6 separate regions of the Homo sapiens genome follow, and regions 1, 2, 3, 4 and 5 are each linked to region 6. Evidence: promoter capture Hi-C in human tissues and cell types (Jung and others, 2019). All regions are on one chromosome and are shown on one strand. The core of a region is centred on a gene start or on the middle of the fragment in contact, and the rest is flanking DNA. Distances in the headings are between cores, read along the strand shown.

Region 1 (3,367 bases), core at 683-3,182, 1.2 Mb after region 6:
AAATCAATCATGCCTACGTGATGAAGCCTCCATAAAAACCCCTGAGCTGCAGGGTTTGGAGAGCTTCCCGGGTGGTGAACACATCCACATGCTGGGAGGACGGCACCCCCCAGCTCCACGGGGACAGACATTCCCGAGCGCAGGACCTTTCCAGACCTCACCCTATGTGCCTCTTCATCTGGATGTTCATCTGTATCTGTTGTAATATCTTTTTTTTTTTTCTTGAGACAAGGTCTCATTCTTTCACCCAGGCTGCAGTGCAGTGGCATGATCACGGCTCACTGCAGCCTCAGCCTCCCCAGGCTCAGATGATCCTCCCACCTAAGCCTCCCAAGTAGCTGAGACTACAGGCGCATGCCAACACGTCTGGCTAATTTTTGTATTTTTTGTAGAGACGGGGTTTCGCCATGTTGCCCAGGCTGGTCTCCAACTCTTGGACTCAAGCAATCCACCCGCCTCAGCCTCCCAAAGCGCTGGGATTACAGGCGTGAGCCACCATGCCCAGCCAATTGTAATATCCTTTATAATAAGCTAGTAATCATGCTTCTCTGAGTTCTGTGAACCATTCTGACAAATGATTGAATCTAAGGAGGGGGTTTTGGGAACCTCTTATCTATAGCCAAGTGGGACAGAAGCGTGGGTAACCTGGGGACCCACGACCTGCAGTTGGTGTCTGACATGGGAAATGGTCTTATGGAATAATGCAGCAGCCCTCCACCTGTGGGAATTGGGTTGAGTTACTGGATGCCCAGTTGGTATCTGCAGAGAATTGGAGAATTGCTTAGTGTGGAAAAACCCACATATTTGGTGCCAGAAGTTCTGTTTGAGCTGTGGAAGAGAATTGGAATTTTCCCTGCACACAGACATTGCTTCAGATGAGGCCACAATAGTTGGCCATACCAGGCCTGAGTAAACGCCAGGAGACAGGAGAGGACATTGCTCTGTGGGACCTACTGGGCCACAGTAGTCCTACTGGGCATGAGCTCACGCCATCTCCTCTGCCAACCTTCCTGCCCTCCGCAGGGCTGCTGAAAACAAGACCTCCAGCTGGCCTTCTTCAAGTCCACAACGTTTCTGACTCATTCCTGGTCAAATCAGGTGGCCTCATCCTCACCCCCAGGACTGTTTCCCAGCCACTGTCTCAGGTCAGTGGATGAGACTCGGGAAGGAGGCCAGGGTCTTTGGGACACCTTCAGTGTCCAGGAAAATGCAGGCTTTAAAAGGAAGTCACCAAGAGATCCCCATTCCCTGTGCTGGGAACCCCATTTGGCAAATACACACAGACACACACATGCACACAGACACACACAGAGACGCACACAGACACACACAGACACACATAGAGACACACACAGACACTCACACAGAGACACACACAGACACACACACACGGATACACACACAGACACAAACAGACACACACACACCCTCTCAGACACACACACACCCTCACAGAGACACACACAGACACACACACACAGATACACACACAGACACAGACACACACACACCCTCTCAGACACACACACACCCTCACACATAGAGACACACACAGACACACACACATGGATACACACAGACACACACACCCCCTCTCACACAGACACACACCCTCACACAGACACACACAGACACATAGACACACACACCCTCTCACACAAACACACACAACACACCCTTACACATAGACACAGAGACACACACAGACACACACACAGACACACCCTCACACATACAGACACAAACAGATACACACACAGACACACACAGATACACACATATACACCCAGCCCCTACCATCGTCACCTTCTCAGAAACTACAATACAATTAGGGCAGCATTCTGGGAATTAGGAAAATTAGATCCTTGGAAAGGGAAATAGCTGTAAGTGATTGAGAGCAATTTTCCTGACAAGAACTCATGGGAGGCAGAGATTTCAGTTAATTCAAAGAAGAAAGCGAGGTCTTCTCTGGGCTGGGGCATCACTGCCAAAGCACCCCCAGTGGCCCCCAAGCAATGAGATTTCCAAACCCCACTGCAGATGCTTCCTTTCCTGAAGAAAGTGAGCTGGGCTCCCAAGGAGTGTGGCAGAGGCTAAGGAGGGAGAAGAATGAAAGAAAGACAGTTACTCCTCCAACTAGAATGAGTGAAAATAAAAACCAATAAAAAGAAAGAGGCAGAGAAAGTTGCTCCTTAAAAAGTCAGCTTCCAGGACAGGCCAAGTAATAAGAAGAGCTGACATTTAGGGGGCAATTGCCCCCAAGCCCCAGCCCCTGTTCTTTTTTTTTTTTTTTTTTTTTTTTTTTTGAGACGGAGTCTTGCTCTGTTGCCAGGCTGGAGTGGAGTGGCGTGATCTCAGCTCACTGCAACCTCCGCCTCCCGGCTTCAAGCAATTCCCCTGCCTCAGCCTCCTGAAGAGCTGGGATTACAGACGCGTGCCACCACGCCTGGCTAATTTTTTGTATTTTAGTAGAGACGGGCTTTCACCATGTTGGCCAGGATGGTCCCGATCTCCTGACCTTGTGATCCGCCCGCCTCTGCCTCCCAAAGTGCTGGAATTACAGGCGTGAGCCACCGCTCCTGGCTGCCAACACCAGCGCCTGTTCTAAGCCCCGTACAATGACCCTGTAGGATAGGTTCTGGCATTTTCCATCCCCATTGTACAGACAAAGGAACTGAGGCTCAGATGGGGCTCAATTACTTGCCCTAGGTCCCCCAGTGAGAGAGAAACTTCTACTGTACTGAATTTTGGAAGCTCTAACAAAGACTTAAGCATGCCCACTTCGCTGGAAGTGCACCATTAGGAACTTAGCCAAAAATTCCACTAAAAGGCAAATTATTGACTCCATTTTCAGCCCTTAAGACCTCTAGGCTGAGGATAGGATGGACGAAGGGCACAAAAGCCAGTGCAACCTGCCTTACCTGGAGATACTGATGGCAGCAGGAAGGCAGAGCGGTGGGCTGCACACTCCATGGAGCCGGTGGGAGCCCCATCCCTTCTGAGCTGGGGCAGTAGCTCCCTGGGTGCCGCTGCAGCTGCCCAAACCGTGGCTGCAGACCCAGACCTCCTGCTCTACGAAGCAGGCAAACGCCCCGCCCTCCTGGGCAGGGTTACAGCCACCCAAACTGCGGCTGTGGATCCAAGACTCGCTGTGCTCTTGAAGGGGGCCCGGGAGCAGGCAGGATCTGCCCTTGCGGGTGCAGCTGCAGTCCCCCAAACTGTGGCTGCAGACCTGGGCCTCCCGCTTCACAGAGCAGGCCGGAGCCGGGGACAAGCGGGAGTCCTGCCCCTTCCAGGTTGGTGGGACAGGAGCTCCTGGATGCAGCTGCGGCCACCCTCCCAGGCACAGGCCCAGTGCATCTCTGCA
Region 2 (3,347 bases), core at 49-2,548, 1.4 Mb after region 6:
TCCCAACACTTTGGGAGGCCAAGGCAGGAGAGTTGTTTGAAGCCAGGAGTTTGAGACCAGCCTGGGCAACATGATGAGACCGCGTCTCTACAAAAAGTAAAATTAGCTGGGTGTGGTGCTTCCAGCTACTAGGCAGCTGAGGCTAAAGGATCACTTGAGCCCAGGAGTTCGAGGCTGCAGTGAGTGATGATCTTGCCACTGCACTCCAGCCTGGGAGGCAGAGCAAGAAACACCCTGTGTGAAAAAAGTATTGAATTTGTTTGATTCCACTTTCAAAATATGCTCTAGATACAGGTAGTCATTCTGCCAAATTGTGTTCTTCTCTAAAACATTTTGTCCGTCATTCTTTGAAACTCATTCTTAATTATTTCCACTTTACCTTCTAGTTTGGTTTGATGCCTTATATTCTTGCTAGTTAAAAGCATTTTTTCCCTAGTATTTTCTGTCTTTCTAGCCTTTAAGGCATATTGTTGTTAACAAATCTCTTATTTAAGTTAATTAAAGTTTTTTCTGTGCAGCTGGGTTTTTTCTTTTACTACATGACAAGCTTCATTTTTACATTTGGAAGTACATGTATATATGTTTATATATTTTTATTCTCAGGATCTATTTTCTAGGGAACTATTTTTTTAAATTATTCTTTTGTGCTGCCTTAACCCATTTATTATAGTTTGAATATTAGTAGTACTTACTACTCAAAGATTACAACTATACTAATAACTATCCTAACATACAAAGCAGACTCTCCAGGATTAAAAGTATGAGACATATAACAGAGTCTGGAATAGAATAATTCTTTTTACCCCAGTCAAGTATTTGCCTTTTGCATTATTAAGGAATCTGTTTTGTTCTTTTATTGATAATTTCTATATTTTTTTCTTTGCCTTATTGCACTGGTTGGGACTTTTTGCCTTGATCCAGTTGTAGGGGGGAAACATTCAGTCATTAAGCATTAAATAACTTTGTTGTTGTTGTGGGCTTGAAAAAATACCCTTTAGTAGATTGAGGGTAGACTCTTTTATTTCTGCTTGTTGGAAGTTTTCTGTCAGGAACAGATGTTGAATTTTGTCAGATGCTTTTTCTGCATAATTGATAGGACCTTTTTTCTCCCCTTTAGAATGTTCATATGGTGAAACATACTGATAGCTTTTCTTTTCTTTTTTTTTTGACACGGAGTCTCACTCTGTCACCCAGGCTGGAGTGCAATGGTGCGATCTTGGCTCACTGCACCCTCTGCCTCTTGGGTTCAAGCTTCCCTCACCAGCCTCCCAAGTACCTGGGTATACAGGTGTGCATCACCATGCCCGGCTAATTTTTGAATTTTTAGTAGAGATAGGTTTTTACCATGTTGGCCAGGCTGGTCTTCAACTCCTGACTCAGCCTCCCAAAGTGTTGGGATTACAGTCTCGCTCTGTCGCCCAGGCTGGAGGGCAGTGGTGTGATCTTGGCTCAATGCAACCTTGCAACCTCTGCCTCCCGAGTTCAAGCGATTCTCCTGCCTTAGCCTCCTGAGTAGCTGGAATTACAGGCGCACGCCACTACACCCAGCTTCTTTTTGTATTTTTAGTAGAGATGGAGTTTCACCATGTTGGCCAAGCTGGTCTCGAACTCCTGAGCTCCGGTGATCCACCCGCCTTTACAGGCATGAGCCACCGTGCCCGGCTGCATTTCTCTTTTGTAAGAACCTGCTCTGGTTTATTGATATTTTGCTGTTTTTCTGTTTTAAGTTTCATTAATTTCTGATCTTTAGTATTTTCTCCTTTCTTTGCTTTGGGCTTATTTGCTCCCTTTTCTAGCTTATTGTGGCGGAAGCTCAGATCATTGATTTTAAAATTTACTTATTTATTTATTTATTTATTTAATTCAACACTGATCAGAAGGCTTTTTGTGCTTTTCTAAAAAAAGCATTTAATGCTATAAATTTCCCATTTGCTTTATCTCACAAATTTTATTGTGTTGTAATTTTGTGTTCAATTTAGAATATTCTGATTTTTCTTGGTATTACTATAATTTTCAAATATTTAGAGTTTTTTTCAGTTATCTTTCTGTTACTGATTGTAATTTATTGTTTTTTAAAATTATAGTTCTTTGAATAGTTTTGCAGTATTTGCTCTAGGGATTACTATAAACATACTTCACTTTTTACAGTTCACTTAGAAGTCAATATTTTACCAGTTCAAGTGGAATGTAGAAAAATCTTACCACTGTTTACATTCCTTTACCCTCTCCCCTTTATGTTATAATTTTCTTATAAATCATAAGACTTGGCTGGGCACAGTGGCTCACCTGTAATCCCAGGACTGGGAGGCCGAGGCGAGCAGATTGCTTAAGTCCAGGAGTTCGAGACCAGCCTGGACAATGTGGTGAAACCCCAACTCTACAAAAAATACACAAAATTAGCTAGGCGTGGTAGCATGTTCCTGTAGTCCCAGCTACTCAGGAGGCTGAAGTGGGAGGATTACTTGAGCCCAGGAGGCAGAGGTTGCAGTGAGCCAAGATCACTCCACTCCACTCCAGCCTGAGTGACAGAGCTAGACACTGTGTCTCAAAAAATAAAAATAAAAAATAAGACTCATCAGATAATGTATTTTTTCCTTACAACTATCATAGATATTTTTAAGAACCCAAGAGGAAAACAGTCTATCACATTTACCACAATATTTATCATTTGTATTAATCTTCCTTAATTCTTGATGTTCCAAGTTTACATAGGTATCAGTCCTTTTCATCTGGAAAATTTCTTTTAGTGCAGGTCTGTTGACATTTAATTCTCTTATTTTTTCTTCATCTGAGAATGTCTTTATTTTGCCTTAATTCATGAAAGATATTTTTGCTGGATATAAACTACTGTGTTGACAGTTCTTTCAGCCTCCATGGTTTCTGATGAGAAATGTGCAGCCATTAAAGTAATATTTCCCCTGTATGAAACATGTTATTTTTCTCTGAGTATTTTCAGGAATCTTTGTCTTTGGTTTTTATTGGTTTGATTATGATGTGCCCGGGTGTTTGAATTTATTCTCTTTGGGATTTGTTGAGCTTAAATGTGTAAGTTTATGCCTTTCATCAGATTATGTAAAGTTTTAAACCATTCAGATATTTTCTGCTCTACTTTCTCCTCCCTCTTAGGCTCCAGTGATGCAAGTGTTAGACTCTTTGGTATTATCTCACAGATCTCAGAACCTCTGTTCATTTATTTTATTTTAATAAATCATTTCAGTTAACAAAATCATATATTGTATGCAGCATGATGTTTCAATATGTATGTTCACATTGTAGGATGTCTAAAGTAAAGATAATGAACATATGCATTATCATGTATACTTACCATTTTTTTTGTGGCTGCAACA
Region 3 (3,297 bases), core at 590-3,089, 1.5 Mb after region 6:
TTTGTGCCTGGCTCATTTCACTGAGCACAGTGTCCTCAGGGTCCATCGATGCTGTAGTGTGTGTCAGAACGTCCCTCCTCTTTAAGGCTGAATAGTATTCTGTGCTATATAATGCGTAGACACCACCTTCTGTCTATGTATTATCCATCACTGGGCATTTGGGTTGCTTCCACCTTTTGGCTTTTGTGAGTAATGCTGCTACAGTTATGAGTGTACAGATGTCTCTTGGAGACCCTGCTTTGGATTCTCTGGGATATATACCCAGAAGTGGAGTTGCTGAAACATGCGGTAATCCTACTTTTAATTTCTGAAGAGCCTCCAGTTTTCCACAGCAGTTGTGCCATTTTAGCCCTTTTGAACCCCTGCATTTGTGCCTTCCTCTCTTGGTTGACTCTTGGTGCATCTGTAAGGTATCACCGTCCCTGAAGAGAAAAGAGAGAACTGAGGCCAGACTTATCCAAAGCTGTCCAGCAACCTGCTGGCAGAGCTAAGCCCAGAATCGAGGCCACCTGCCTCCCTGCTGAGACTCAGTCCCCGCCAGACACTGTCACCCTCACCCCCTAACACACATAGACCCCGTGCTGTGGGATTGTGGCCCAGCAAAAAGAAGCCCCACCAAGAGGCAGCCAGAGGTGGGGAGACTCGGAGAGAGAGGGTTTGGATTCCCGGGTGACTTGACTGCCAGGATCAGGGTCCTTCCTTCTAGAGGTCGGGGCTCAGAGGGCCTTTCCCACCTCCATCTGGGCTCACAAACCCTAGTATTGCAGAGTCTGGGCAGTGAAAATGAGTGAAGTGAGCTGGGGCATTGCCAGGGTGCGCAGGGCCTGTGCTGAAGTGGAGAGCTGTTCCTCAACCATGTGGGCACGTGGGCCCAGCACAGCCAGCTCTTCTGTTTGTTCAAGATGAACAGAAAGTCTAGTCTTTTATGAGAATTGCCTGATTTTATTTTATTTTAGTTTTTGAGACAGGGTCTCTCACTCTGTCGCCCAGGCTGGAGTGCAGTGGTATGATCATAGCTCACTGTAGCCTCCATCTCCTGGGTTTAAGCAGTCCTCTTGCCTCAGCCTCCTGAGTATCTGGGACCACCACTCCTGGCTAAGTTTTTTAAAATTATTTTTTGTAGAGGTGGGGTCTTGCTATGTTGCCCAGGCTGGTCTCAAACTCCTGGCCTCAAGGGATCCTCCCACCTTGGCCTCCCAAAGCACTGGGATTACAGGTGTGAGCCACTGTGCCCAGCTGGAATTGACTGATTTTAAACAAATACTTCTGATCTGGGGCTTCCAGTGTGACGTTTGAGTTGGTTTCTCCTTATCTTCATTTAAGTGAAAGGGAAACTGGGCCCAGGGGAAGGTAGAGGGACCCGGGCCTCCCGCCTACAGGCCTCAGTTCTCCTGGGACAGAAGCAGGTTCTCAGGGGTGTATGGTCCTCACCCCTGTCCATTCTCAAGCTTCCCAGGACCCTCATCCGGTGGGATCCTGGGAGCTGATGGCACCAACTGTCACTGAAGTCAGCTCCTGCCCTGGTGTCCTGTCTAGCAGGGCCCCAGGGCCATTGTCAATGATGGCAGCAGTGGGCATTGGAACCCACGTCTGTTCTGACTCCAGAGTCCTTGCCTCTAACCTCAGCACCATGTTTCTCTCCACCCCAGGATCTCCATCCACATACAAGAGATGGATACTCCTGGGGAGATGCTGATGACAGGCAGGGGCAGCCTTGGACCCACCCTCACCACAGAGGCTCCAGCAGCTGCCCAGCCAGGCAAGCAGGGCCCACCTGGGACCGGGCGCTGCCTCCAAGCCCCTGGGACTGAGCCCGGAGAACAGACCCCTGAAGGAGCCAGAGAGCTCTCCCCGCTGCAGGAGAGCAGCAGCCCCGGGGGAGTGAAGGCAGAGGAGGAGCAAAGGGCTGGGGCCGAGCCTGGCACGAGACCAAGCTTGGCCAGGAGTGACGACAATGACCACGAGGTTGGGGCCCTGGGCCTGCAGCAGGGCAAAAGCCCAGGGGCGGGAAACCCTGAGCCTGAGCAGGACTGTGCAGCCAGGGCTCCGGTGAGAGCTGAAGCAGTAAGGAGGATGCCCCCAGGCGCCGAGGCTGGCAGCGTGGTTCTGGGTAAGTGGGGCTGTTGCCTGGCTAGACACGAGCCCTGAGGGGAGGGAGTTTGGAGCCCCTACTCCTGGGGAGTCTTCCTGTAGCTTCCAGGGGTAGATCATATGAGTCTGGGGGCGTCCAAGAGTCGGGAACATCTCCAGGTACATCCTGGGGCTGGAGACCAAGGCGCAGAGATGTGGGGCCTGAACTTGGGCTGGCTGCAGGGGTAAGGGAGAGGGGACACGTGTGGCCCACCTGGGTACATTTCCTTTTTTGGAGACAGGGTCTTGCTCTGTTGCCCAGGCTGGAGTCCAGTGGCATGATCATAGTCCCCTGCAGGCTTGACCCAGGTTCAAGTGATCCTCCAGCCTCGGCCTCCCAGAGCTTTGGGATTGCAGGCATAAGCCGCTGTGCCTGGCCACTGGGGAGATTTCTTACCGCCACCTGCCCACCTGAGCTTGCCACCATGAGTCTCATTTTGGATTGAGAGAGAGAAGGCTCTGTTAAAAAGCGAAGACATGAATTGGTGTCTGTGACCACTGTCAGCCATTCCCACCCACCCGGGCTAGTGACCCAGGGTGTGTTCTTATGATCTAAAAGCCCTCAACCCCTCCAGCCCTAGGGTCACACCCTCCTTGGTCTGAGAATTGTCCACGGACCACTGTCGGTGTTCCCGGTAGTTGGAGAGCAGGCAAAGTGCTCCCATGGCGAGCACTGAACAAACGCTAGCCCGAGCCAACTTCCTTCCAGCCCTTGGTGCACAACCGGTTCATACCACTGCACTTGCTGTGTGTTCTAGATTCTGTTTTATTCATTTAGTCTATTTCCTGTAACATTTCTAGGTATTCATATCACCTCTGAAGGACAAGATTAAAATAAAACAACCCTAAACCATTAAAAAACAAACAAACAAGCAAACCTTTCCAAGTGCTGGCCGTCCTCTATTTCCCTTGCCGACAGATCCCCTGTCCACCCCCTCCCCAATCCTGTGCCCCGGGGCCTGCCCCTCTGGCTCCATCACGGGCTGTCATGCTGAGCTTCTGGTTGGGCTCAGCTGGCAGGAGATGGAGGGTGAGAGGAGAGAGGGTGGATGTTTATTTCTCCAGCTGCCTCCCTCTCATAACACCCTCATGAGTTTCCACAGCCCTGACTTTACAGTCCCTTTAAAAATAGTGGCGTCACTAACTGCCCCATCACCTTGTCCACAT
Region 4 (3,446 bases), core at 436-2,935, 1.1 Mb before region 6:
CTCGTCCTCCCACTTCTTGCTCTTGCCATGTGAAGTGCCTGCTCCTCTTTTGCCTTCTGCCATGATTGTAAGCTTCCTGAGACCTCCCCAGAAGTGGAATCTCCTATGCTTCTTGTACAGCCATGAGCCAATTAAACATTTTTTTTTATTTTTTTTTTAAATAAATGACCCAGTCTCAGGTATTTCTTTGTAGCAGTATGAGAATGGACTAATACAGTAAGTAAGCACACAAACATAATGGAAGCTTTCCCCAAAGGCAGGTGCTGACCTGGATAAAGCAGAGGAGTCTATGCATTTGGGAATTGGAAAACCTCAGTTTGAGCCCTGGCTCTGCCCTTTATTACTTCTGTGACTTCAATAAAATGACTTATTTTCACTTTCCTTATCCTTCAACTAGGGGTAAAAATGGTGCCTCCCTGGTAGCCTGACTGGGAGCAATTGACCACATAACCCAGGTACAAATCTAAGCACAGGGCCTTGACCACAGTAAACATTAAAAGTTAGTGATGTGTTGAGCATTGTTATTAGTAATGGCATTTTTTACTCATTTTGCTCTAGGGTCAGGAGATTCAAGACCAGGTGGCATCTTCTGCAGAGGACACCACTTTCCAAAGACATGGCTTGGTTCTTCATAGATGATAGGTCTTGGGGGAGCTCTGGGAAAAACTAAGGCAAACTTGGTTGCTACATTTCTTGGAGAAAGAGGAAAGGGTGGGTTAGAACTAGCTCGATGTAGGGTAGAAAAGAGGAGGTATGTTAGCTGGAGTTGCAGTTGCAGTAATGGCAGTGAGGAATGAATGTTCTTTGATTCTGAAGGCATCACAAGGAGAGAAGAGCTGAGGGCAGTAGGAGGATCCCATCCTGCAATATGGAGACCCAGAAGCCACTGCCCCTTGGCCCTTCTAGAATTCTGACCAATACTAACATTTGCCCAGCTTGACTAAACTTTAGACAGGTTTCTTCCTGATGATAGGCCCTTGGCCTCCTTTTCCTTAGAGCATTTCCTCTAGAAAACTTGGATTTGTAAATTTTTTCTCTGCCCCTTTGAGATGTAAATCTCTCAGTCTCTTGCTAGTTTTACAATCCAGGAATGTTTTTCTCAAGGACCTGGGAGGACCCTTTGAAATGTAATCATCAAGAAAGATTGTACCTTGTCTCTCAGTCTCTGTGAGAGGATGGGAGCCTAACATTTATAAGTGCGAATTAGCAACACAGACAGCCTAATCATATTAACTAATTCCCCCACCCCCTTAATGTCCTTGGGTAGTTCTCACTAGCTTATCCCAGCACTTCAAAACCATCCCGCCTTTTGTTTCAGGAGAGTTAAGTTCAATCTCTCTCCCCTACTGCAACTACCTTGAGTAAAGTCTTCCTGCCATTTCTCTTGGATGGTACCCACCTCGGGAGCTTGTTTCTTCTTCCCCTGCCTCCGCTCCAGCCACTCCAGCACACAGGTGAGGTCAGACATGCGCCTATCTTCAGCAGTCTTCCACATGTATTTCCTCTTTGTGGGCATTAAATCCTTCAGGTCCATTTGTTGCTCTGACATTGTGGAGTCTTGCTAGTGGCTTGGGTGGGAGGTGGCTGGCACTGTCTCACTCTTTCGATCCCTTTGTCTGGACTTGATGGCCTGGTGACTTAGAAGGTAGGGTGTGGCCTCCAGATGTGAACATAAAGGGCAGAGTGAGCCAAGACCCTGGGATATTGGCCTTAAAAGGTGGAAGGCCTGGGCAGTGATTGTGAAGTCATTGCCCGTCTTGGTAGCTGGCCCTGAGGTCAGAGTGGAGGTGGGACATTGGCCACCTCCCACTGTTCTCCATGTGGCCACTACCCCTCTTCAGGCGCTATGTCTCCTCTGGACTCTGCCACAGCCTCCTTGCAGCCTCTCCACCTCTACCTCCACAGAGATCTTAATAAAATAAAGGTCTGTCCACGCATCTTCCTTTCTCAAAAACCTTCAATGGCTCCTTGTTGCCTATCTAAAAGAAATCTGAATTCTTTAGTTTGGCATCCTATCTTTCTGTAGTGTACTCTAATTAGAAGAAAGCTTTTTATAAGCCCAATTCGTCTATATTCATTTATTCATCCAACATGTGGTTATCAGGCACCTACTAAGTATTGGGAATGGTGCTGGGGATACAATGCAGGAAAAAAACATAGGCAAACCTCCTAAGACATATGGGCTAGTGGAAAAGACAGGGCAGATAATTACCGTATGAATTCATAATGACAAGTGAAGATGAGTGCTTTCAAAGAAAGGAATGTAGTTCTATGAAAGGCCATATCAATGGTACTAGACTTGGATGGGGTGGTGGGTAGGCCACCTTTGAGCTCTGAGCTAAAGGATAAATAGACTTCAACAGGGCTGTTATGGTCTGGACATTTCTGTCCCTCCAAAATTCATGTGCTGAAATCCTAACCCCCAAGGTGATGGCATTAAAAGGTGGGGTCTTGGGAGGTAATTAGGTCATGAGAGCAGTTCTCTCATGATTGGAATTGGTGCCCTTGCAGAAGAGACTAGAGAGAGCTCCACCATGTGAAGATGTAGTGAGAAGGTGTCACCAGGAAATGGGTTCAGCAGACAACGGAATCTGTCAGAGCCTTAATTTTGGATTTCCTAGGCTTCAAAAATGTGATAAATGAATGTTTGTTGTTTATAAGCTACCCACTTTGTGGTATTTTGTCATAGGCCCAAATGGATTAAGATAAGGGCTTTGGACCAGAGAAATATGCCTGTGCAAAGGCCCTGTGACAAGCGGGAGGCATGGCACTAACAACAGAAGGCAAGGGTGACTAGAGTACCAGAGGCAAAGAGGCAATGGTACAGAGGTGGCCAGAGGCCAGGCCATCCAGGAACTTGGTAGCCACAGGTTCTGCTCAGACTGGGAAGGGAAAGGGAGCAAAGGAAAACAATAAAGGAATTCAAAAAAAGGGGAGGGAGTGGCATGGTCAGGCTTCCCTTTTTTGCTCTAGTAAACTTCTATTGAAGGAAATTATATATACAAAAATGTGCCAGAATCACAAATGAAGACATCTATGTAACCAGTACCCCAGAATCTTCCATACAGCCCCTGGTAGTTATTACCACCCTCCAAGGGTAAACATCATCTTATCATCCAATTTCTTTTTTTTTTTTTTTGAGACAGAGTCTCGCTCTGTCACCCAGGCTAGAGTCGGCTTACTGCAACCTCCGTCCCCCAGGTTCAAGCGATTCTCCTGCCTCAGCCTCCTGAGTAGCTGGGATTACAGGCGCACTGTAATTTTTGTATTTTTAGTAGAGACGGGGTTTCACCATGTTGGCCAGGCTGGTCTTGAACTCCTGACCTCGTGATCCACCTGTCTCGGCCTCACAAAGTGCTGGGATTACAGGCGTGAGCCACCGTGTCCGGCCTTATTATCCAATATCAAACTTTTTCTTCCTGTTATTGAGTTAAATATAAACCAAA
Region 5 (3,262 bases), core at 270-2,769, 1.1 Mb after region 6:
GGGACTGCTGCCTTTCTTTCAGAGATGCCCTGCCCAGAGAGGAGGAATCTAGAGAGGCAGTCTGGCTACAGCAGCTTTGCTGAGCTGCGGTGGGCTCTGCCCAGTTCAGACTTCCCTGTGGCTTTGTTTACACTGTGAGGGGAAAACCACCTACTCAAGCCTCAGTCATGGCAGATGCCCCTCCCCCTACCAAGCTCAAGCGTCCCAGGTCAACTTCAGACTGCTGTGCTGGCAGTGAGAATTTCTAGCCAGTGCATCTTCGTCTGAAGGGCCCCGTGGGGGTGGGATCTGCTGAACTACACCACTTGGCTCCCTGGTTTCAGCCCCCTTTCCAGGGGAATGAACAGTTCTGTCTCGCTGGCGTTCCAGGCACCACTAGGGTATGAAAAAAAACTTCTGCAGGTAGCTCGGTGTCTGCCCAAATGGCCGCCAGTTTTATGCTTGAAACCCAGGTCCCTGGTGGTGTAGGCACCCGAGGGAATCTCCTGGTCTGCGGGTTGTGAAGACCATGGGAAAAGTGTAGTATCTGGGCCAGAATGCGCCGTTCCCTCATGGCTTCCCTTGGCTAGGGGAGGGAGTTCCCCGACCCCTTGAGCTTCCCAAGTGAGGTGACCCTCCACCCTGCTCCTACTCGTCCTCCGTGGGCTGTACCCACTGTCTAACCAGTCCCAGTGAAATGAGCTGGGTACCTCAGTTAGAAATGCAGAAATCACCTGCCTTCTGCCTTGATCTCATGGGGAGCTGCAGACTGGAACTGTTCCTATTCGGCCATCTTGCCCAGGAATCAACTGATTGGTGTTAATTCTTTACATGTTTAGTAGAATTCACCAGTGAAGCCATGTGATCCAGAGCCTTTCTTTGTTGAGAAGTTCTGGATTCTTTTTTTAATCTCCTTGCTAGTTTTAGGCCTATTCAGATTTTCTTTGGCTTCATTATGCAGTTTTGATTGTGTGTTTCTAGGAATTCATCCATTTCCTCTAGGTTGTCAGTTTGTTGGCATACAGTTGTTCTTAGTATTCACTTATGATTCTTTTTATATACGTCAGATCTGTAGTAATGTCTCCAGTTGCATTTCTGATTTTAATAATTTGAGTCTTTTTGTTCTTAATAATTCTAGCCACAGGTTTGTCAGTCTTGTTGATCTGTCCAAAGAATCAAGTTTTGGGTTTTTGCTCTTTTTCTGTTTTCTATTTTATTTATTGTCACTCAAATCTTTATTATTTTGTTACTTCTGCTAGCTTTGGATTTAGTTTGTCTTCTTTCTCTAGTTCCTTAAGGTATAAAGTTAAACTATTGATCTAAGTTGTTTCTTCTTTTTTAATGTAGGCATTTACAGGTGTAAATTTCCCTTTTACTACTGCTTTTAGTACTCTGCATAAGTTTTGGCATGTTTTGGGTTTCATTTGTCTCAAGGTATCTTATAATTTCCCGTGGATTTCTTTTTTGAAATCACAGCTTTAAAAGTTGTGTAAGAGTGTGTAGTTTAATTTACACAGACTTGTGAATTTTTTCATTTTCCTTCAGTTGTTGATATCTAGTTTCATTCCATTTTGATTTGAAAATAAATTTTATATTTCAGTCATTTAAAATATATTAAGACTTGTTTTGTGGCTGAACATACGTAGTCTATTCTAGAGACTGTCTGATGTGTAATTGAGAAAAATTACATTTTTCTGTTATTGGGTGGAATTTTCTGTATATGTTAGGTCCATTTGGTCTATAGTGGTGTTCAGGTCCTTTATTTTCTTATTGATGTTCTGCCTGGTCATTCTATCCTTTATTGAAAGTGCAATGTTGAAGTCTCCAATTACTATTGTACAAGTGTCTACTTCTCCCATCAGTTCTATCAATGTTTGTTTCATATATTTTAGGGCTCCTTTGTTTTTAGTCCATATATGTTTATAATCGTTATATCTTCTGGGTGAATTGACCCTTTTATCAATATACCGTGTCCTTTTTTATCCAAGACTAGTCTTGCCACCCCCTAGCTGTCTTTTAGCAACTATTTGCATGGAATATCTTTGTCCATCCTTTTACTTTCAACTTTTTTATATCTTTAAAGTGAGTGTCCTACAGGCAGCATATAATTGGATCTTGTTTTTTCCCATCAATTCTGCAATCTCTTCTTTTGATTGGAGAGTTTATTTATGTTTAATTGCTGATGAGGAAGGTTCTGTCACTTTGCTACTTGTTTTCTGTGTGTCTATAGCTTTGTTGTCTCTCATTTCCTCCATTACTGCCTTCTTTTCTTTAATTGATTTTTTTTTGTAGTGACAAGTTTTGATTCCCTTCGCATTTCCTTTTGTGTATATTTTATAGATATGTTCTTATGGTTACTATGGAGATTGTGTTTTTATGAACTGCTTAAGTTTTTAAAAGTTATCTTCACTATTTGGTAAGCATGTGGGAAGTTTTTCTTATTAAAGGTTGTAGCTCATACACAGACAACCACCACAACTTAAAAGTGGAGAAATTTTGAAGACAGATTTTAGGATTCTTCTTTGGGTTCCTAGGCCAGGCACAGCGGCTCATACATGTAATTCCAGCTTTTGTGAGGCCGAGGCGGGTGGATCGCTTGAGCTCAGGAGTTTGAGACCAGCCTGCCTAGCCAACATGGTGAAACCCCATCTCTACTAACAATACAAAAATTAGCTGGGCGTGGTGGTATGCACCACTCAGGAGACTGAGATGGGAGGATCACTTGAACCCAGGAGGCAGAGGTTGGAGTGAGCTAAGATTGCACCACTGCACTCCAGCCTGGGTGACAGAGCAAGACCCCGTCTCAAAAAATAAATGGCCAGGCGCGGTGGCTCATGCCTGTAATCCCAGCACTTTGGGAGGCCAAGGCGGGCAGATCATGAGGTCAACAAGATTGAGACCATCCTGGCTAACACGGTGAAACCCTGTCTCTACTAAAGATACAAAAAATTAGCCGGGCATGGTGGCGGGCGCCTGTAGTCCCAGCTACTCGATAGGCTGGGGCAGGAGAATGGCGTGAACCCGGGAGGCGGAGCTTGCAGTGAGCCAACATTGCACCACTGCACTCCAGCCTGGGTGACAGAGTAAGACTCCGTCTCTAAATAAATAAATAAATAAATAAATAAGTAAATAAATAAAACAAACCTTCCTTTAGGTTCCTGAAAAATCAAGTGAATACATTCCCACCAGGAAAAACTGTTTCTGTTATATTTCTTTGCTTTTCTATCTCCTTAAACTCCTCAGCCAATTAGCTAAGGATTAAAAAAAAAAAAAAAAAATCCAA
Region 6 (3,263 bases), core at 305-2,804:
AGCATACGATATACCAGCATTGTCCAATAAAAATATAATGTGGACCACATATAAAATTTTAGTGGCCACATTATAAAGTAAAAACAGCAGAAATCTTAACATTTTATTAACCCCAAGTACTCAAAATATTACCTTTCCAACATTTAATCCATATAAAATGTATTAATCAAAAAGTTTTTTCAAAATCTGGCGTGTATTGTACACTTACAGCACATTTAGGGTGACCAACCTCCTGGTTTCCCTGGGACGGAGGGGCTAAAACATAGGACTTTCAATGCTAAAACAGACAATCGCAGCAAACCAGGACAACTGGCAATTCTATCATCTCAATTTGACGAGCCACATGCACTACACAGTACTGGACAGCAAAGTCATCCATCATGCATGGTGCAAAGTGGAATATACACATTATTCAATTTATTCTTCATAACTTGCCTAAGAGATGGATGCTGTCAGTTTCCAAATTGCAGAATAAAAGAAATAGAGGTTAAAGCTCTCACCCAAAGTCACACCAATAGGGCGAGGGTACTGGGCAATATAGTAGTAAGCCTGGGGCCTAAGAAATGTTATGAGTGAAGGAGCAGAGGTGAGAAGCTAGGAAAGTTCCAGAAAGGGGGACCAGCGAAAATGTGAGCAGTAAAGGCCCTTTACAAAGGGAAACAGAAGGATTAGGGGGAGAAGGAGAAGGGTGGCAGGGAGTATAGAAGAAAGGCACCCACAAATAGTGCAGTTTAGGAATGAAACAGGAAAAGTTAAAACTCACGGAGCAGAGAATGCCTCAGCGGACAAAAATGATGGGTGACAGAAAAGGGGAGGCGGATAGGAGTAAAGGGCAGTGGGGAGAAAGGTGAAAAGCGAAGGCAAGTGAAGGCAGAGATCACCGGGGAGAAAGAAAGGGCCTGGAAAGTTAAAAGCACTGGCCTAGGAGGCTGAAGACCGAGGGCGAGGAATTGCGGAGAGGGGGAAGAGGATTCAAATTAAATTATCCAGAACGGTAGGGAACTGCGTAGTTTCACCAGGTGTCAGGCACTACTTCATGAACGATCTCATTCATGGTCATGGGGCAGGTATCTGACATCCCCATTTTGCAAGTGATAGCACCAGAGAGGCGGAACCGAGCCGCGAAGGCCGCCCCGAACTGAGCCTCGCGCTCAAGGCAGGCCGTGGCCTGGGCCCAGGTCCCCGGAGGAGGCCGCGCCGCCCGCCGCCGCCGCGGGGGCAGCCAGGCCTACCTGTGCAGCGGCGGCAGGTCCTGCGCGTCGCTGGCGGGGTCAGGCGTGTTGGGGATGACGCCCAGGATGGTGCTTTGCAGCGACGTGCCCTTCAGAAGGCGGCTCCGCACCAGCTGCAGGTTGCGGGCCGAGTCCACGCTGGTGCGCATGGTGGAGCCGGGCAGCAGGACGCCCTCGTGGGTGAGCAGCAGCGGGAGGCGACTGGGGATCTGGATGGGGCTCACTGATGACATGCTGGCAGCCTTTCGCACTGGGGGCTGTCAAAAAGAGCCAGACAGACAGCTGCCCCCGGCCTGCCCCGCAGTCACCAAACCTCAGACCCGCCTCCACGCCTCCGCTTCCGGCTACGCGCTACGGTCCGTCCCCGGGCCCAAAAGCCATGGCTTCGCGCTGCTCTCTAGGAGAGCCTCCCGGTAAGACTTGAGCGTCCTACCTATGCGGAAAGACGTGCACTCAAGCGTGCAGCGACCTTCGCCTCACTTACAGAGTATATTTGGAAGGATGATCTTATTTGAATTGTATATACTTGAAGTGTTTTTAACGTTTTCTTCGATTTTTTACATATACTTGAAGTGTTTTTAACTTTTGATTCGAACTAATTATTTATTTATTTATTTATTTATTTATTCTGAGACAGATTCTCGCTCTGTCGCGGAGGCTGGAGTGCAATGGCGCGATACCCACGGCTTGCAGCCTCTGCCTCCCGGGTTCAAGCGATTCTCCTGCCTCAGCCTCCCGAGTAGCTGGGATTACAGATGCCCGCCACCACACCCAGCTAATTGTTGTATTTTTAGTAGGGAGGGGATTTCACCATGTTGGCCAGGCTGGTCTTTAACTCCTGACCTCAAGCGATCCGTCCACCTCGGCCTCCCAAAGTGCTGGGATTACAGGCGTGAGCCAACGTGCCCGGCCCGAATTGATTTTAGATGTACAAAACTACAGCAGAGTTCCTATATACCTTTCACCCAGTTTCGTCTGTTATCATCTTACATAATCATAGTTCAATGATCAAAACCAGGAAATTAACATTATTATCGTTTAACCTATAGGCCTTACCCAAATTTTGCCAGTTTTCCCACTAATGTCCTTCATTGGATCTGGTCCAGGATCCAATATCCAGGATCCTGTTGTGAAATCTCCTAGGTGTTTTGTTATGAAATCTCCTAGGTGTTCTCTAATCTGTGGCAAGTCCTCAATTTTTTTTTTTTTTTTTTTTTTTTGAGACGGAGTCTCGCTCTGTCACCCAGGCTGGAGTGTAGTGGCGAGATCTCGGCTCACTGCAAGCTCCGCCTCCCGGGTTCATGCCATTCTCCTGCTTCAGCCTCCCGAGTAGCTGGGGACTACAGGCACCCGCAACCACGCCCGGCTAATTTTTTGTATTTTTAGTAGAGACGGGGTTTCGCCATGTTAGCCAGGATGGTCTCAATCTCCTGACCTCGTGATCTGCCCGCCTTGGCCTCCCAAAAGTGCTGGGATTACAGGCCTGAGCCACTGCGCCCGTCCAATTTTTTTTTTTTTTACAACCTTGATACTTTTATTTTTTTTCTGTTTTTAATTTAATTTTATTTTTTATTATAGTTTAAGTTCTAGGGTACATGTGCACAACGTACAGGTTTGTTACATATGTATACATGTGCCATGTTGGTTTGCTGCACTCACTAACTCGTCATTTACATTAGGTATATCTCCTAATGGTATCCCTTCCCCCCCACTCCCCACCACCCAACGACAGGCCCCTGAGTGTGATGTTCCCCACCCTGTGTCCAAGTGTTCTCATTGTTCAGTTGCCACCTATGAGTGAGAACTTGCAGTGTTTTGTTTTCGGTCTTTGCGATAGTTTGCTCAGAATGATGGTTTCCAGCATCATCCATGTCCCTACAAAGGACATGAACTCATCCTTTTTTATGGCTGCATAGTATTCCATGGTGTATATGTGCCACATTTTCTTAATCCAGTCTATCATTGATGGACATTTGGGTTGGTTCCAAGTCTTTGCTATTGCGAATAGTGCCGCAGTAAGCATACGTGTGT

Evidence for each region. Contacts are between HindIII fragments. The study calls those that stand out against the background at their distance.
Region 1: a fragment that was not itself captured here is called in contact with the fragment with the promoter of LONP2 in region 6 in 2 of the 25 tissues and cell types used here (lymphoblastoid cells and spleen).
Region 2: a fragment that was not itself captured here is called in contact with the fragment with the promoter of LONP2 in region 6 in 1 of the 25 tissues and cell types used here (spleen).
Region 3: a fragment that was not itself captured here is called in contact with the fragment with the promoter of LONP2 in region 6 in 1 of the 25 tissues and cell types used here (spleen).
Region 4: the fragment with the promoter of C16orf78 here is called in contact with the fragment with the promoter of LONP2 in region 6 in 1 of the 25 tissues and cell types used here (lymphoblastoid cells).
Region 5: a contact is called between a fragment that was not itself captured here and the fragment with the promoter of LONP2 in region 6, in 1 of the 25 tissues and cell types used here (spleen).

Annotation. Positions count from the first base shown.
Region 1 is chr16:47,055,433-47,058,799 of GRCh38, reverse strand. No RefSeq gene overlaps it. Among named protein-coding and RNA genes, the nearest start is that of DNAJA2-DT, 83 kb to the right of the region's middle. The HindIII fragment of the contact is 6,804 bases long and covers 1-3,367 here.
Region 2 is chr16:46,796,564-46,799,910 of GRCh38, reverse strand. C16orf87 (chromosome 16 open reading frame 87) reads left to right here. Exons shown (of 4, transcript NM_001001436.4): 4 at 1-3,308. Among named protein-coding and RNA genes, the nearest start is that of C16orf87, 33 kb to the left of the region's middle. The HindIII fragment of the contact is 3,265 bases long and covers 1-2,930 here.
Region 3 is chr16:46,731,021-46,734,317 of GRCh38, reverse strand. It overlaps MYLK3 (myosin light chain kinase 3), which reads left to right. Exons shown (of 13, transcript NM_182493.3): 4 at 1,650-2,110. Among named protein-coding and RNA genes, the nearest start is that of MYLK3, 16 kb to the left of the region's middle. The HindIII fragment of the contact is 6,295 bases long and covers 1-3,297 here.
Region 4 is chr16:49,372,043-49,375,488 of GRCh38, reverse strand. C16orf78 (chromosome 16 open reading frame 78) reads right to left here and starts at 1,685. Exons shown (of 5, transcript NM_144602.4): 1 at 1,400-1,685. The coding sequence starts at 1,549. LOC105371244 (a long non-coding RNA gene) reads left to right here. Exons shown (of 8, transcript XR_001752167.2): 8 at 559-3,165. RefSeq lists enhancers at 771-1,501, 1,502-2,232. The HindIII fragment of the contact is 5,141 bases long and covers 1-3,446 here.
Region 5 is chr16:47,094,259-47,097,520 of GRCh38, reverse strand. The region is part of intron 7 of NETO2 (neuropilin and tolloid like 2); the gene reads left to right. Among named protein-coding and RNA genes, the nearest start is that of NETO2, 48 kb to the left of the region's middle. The HindIII fragment of the contact is 5,022 bases long and covers 1-3,262 here.
Region 6 is chr16:48,242,591-48,245,853 of GRCh38, reverse strand. It overlaps LONP2 (lon peptidase 2, peroxisomal), which reads right to left and starts at 1,554. Exons shown (of 15, transcript NM_031490.5): 1 at 1,233-1,554. The coding sequence starts at 1,465. The region is part of intron 1 of ABCC11 (ATP binding cassette subfamily C member 11); the gene reads left to right. RefSeq lists an enhancer at 1,529-1,618. The HindIII fragment of the contact is 28,002 bases long and covers 1-3,263 here.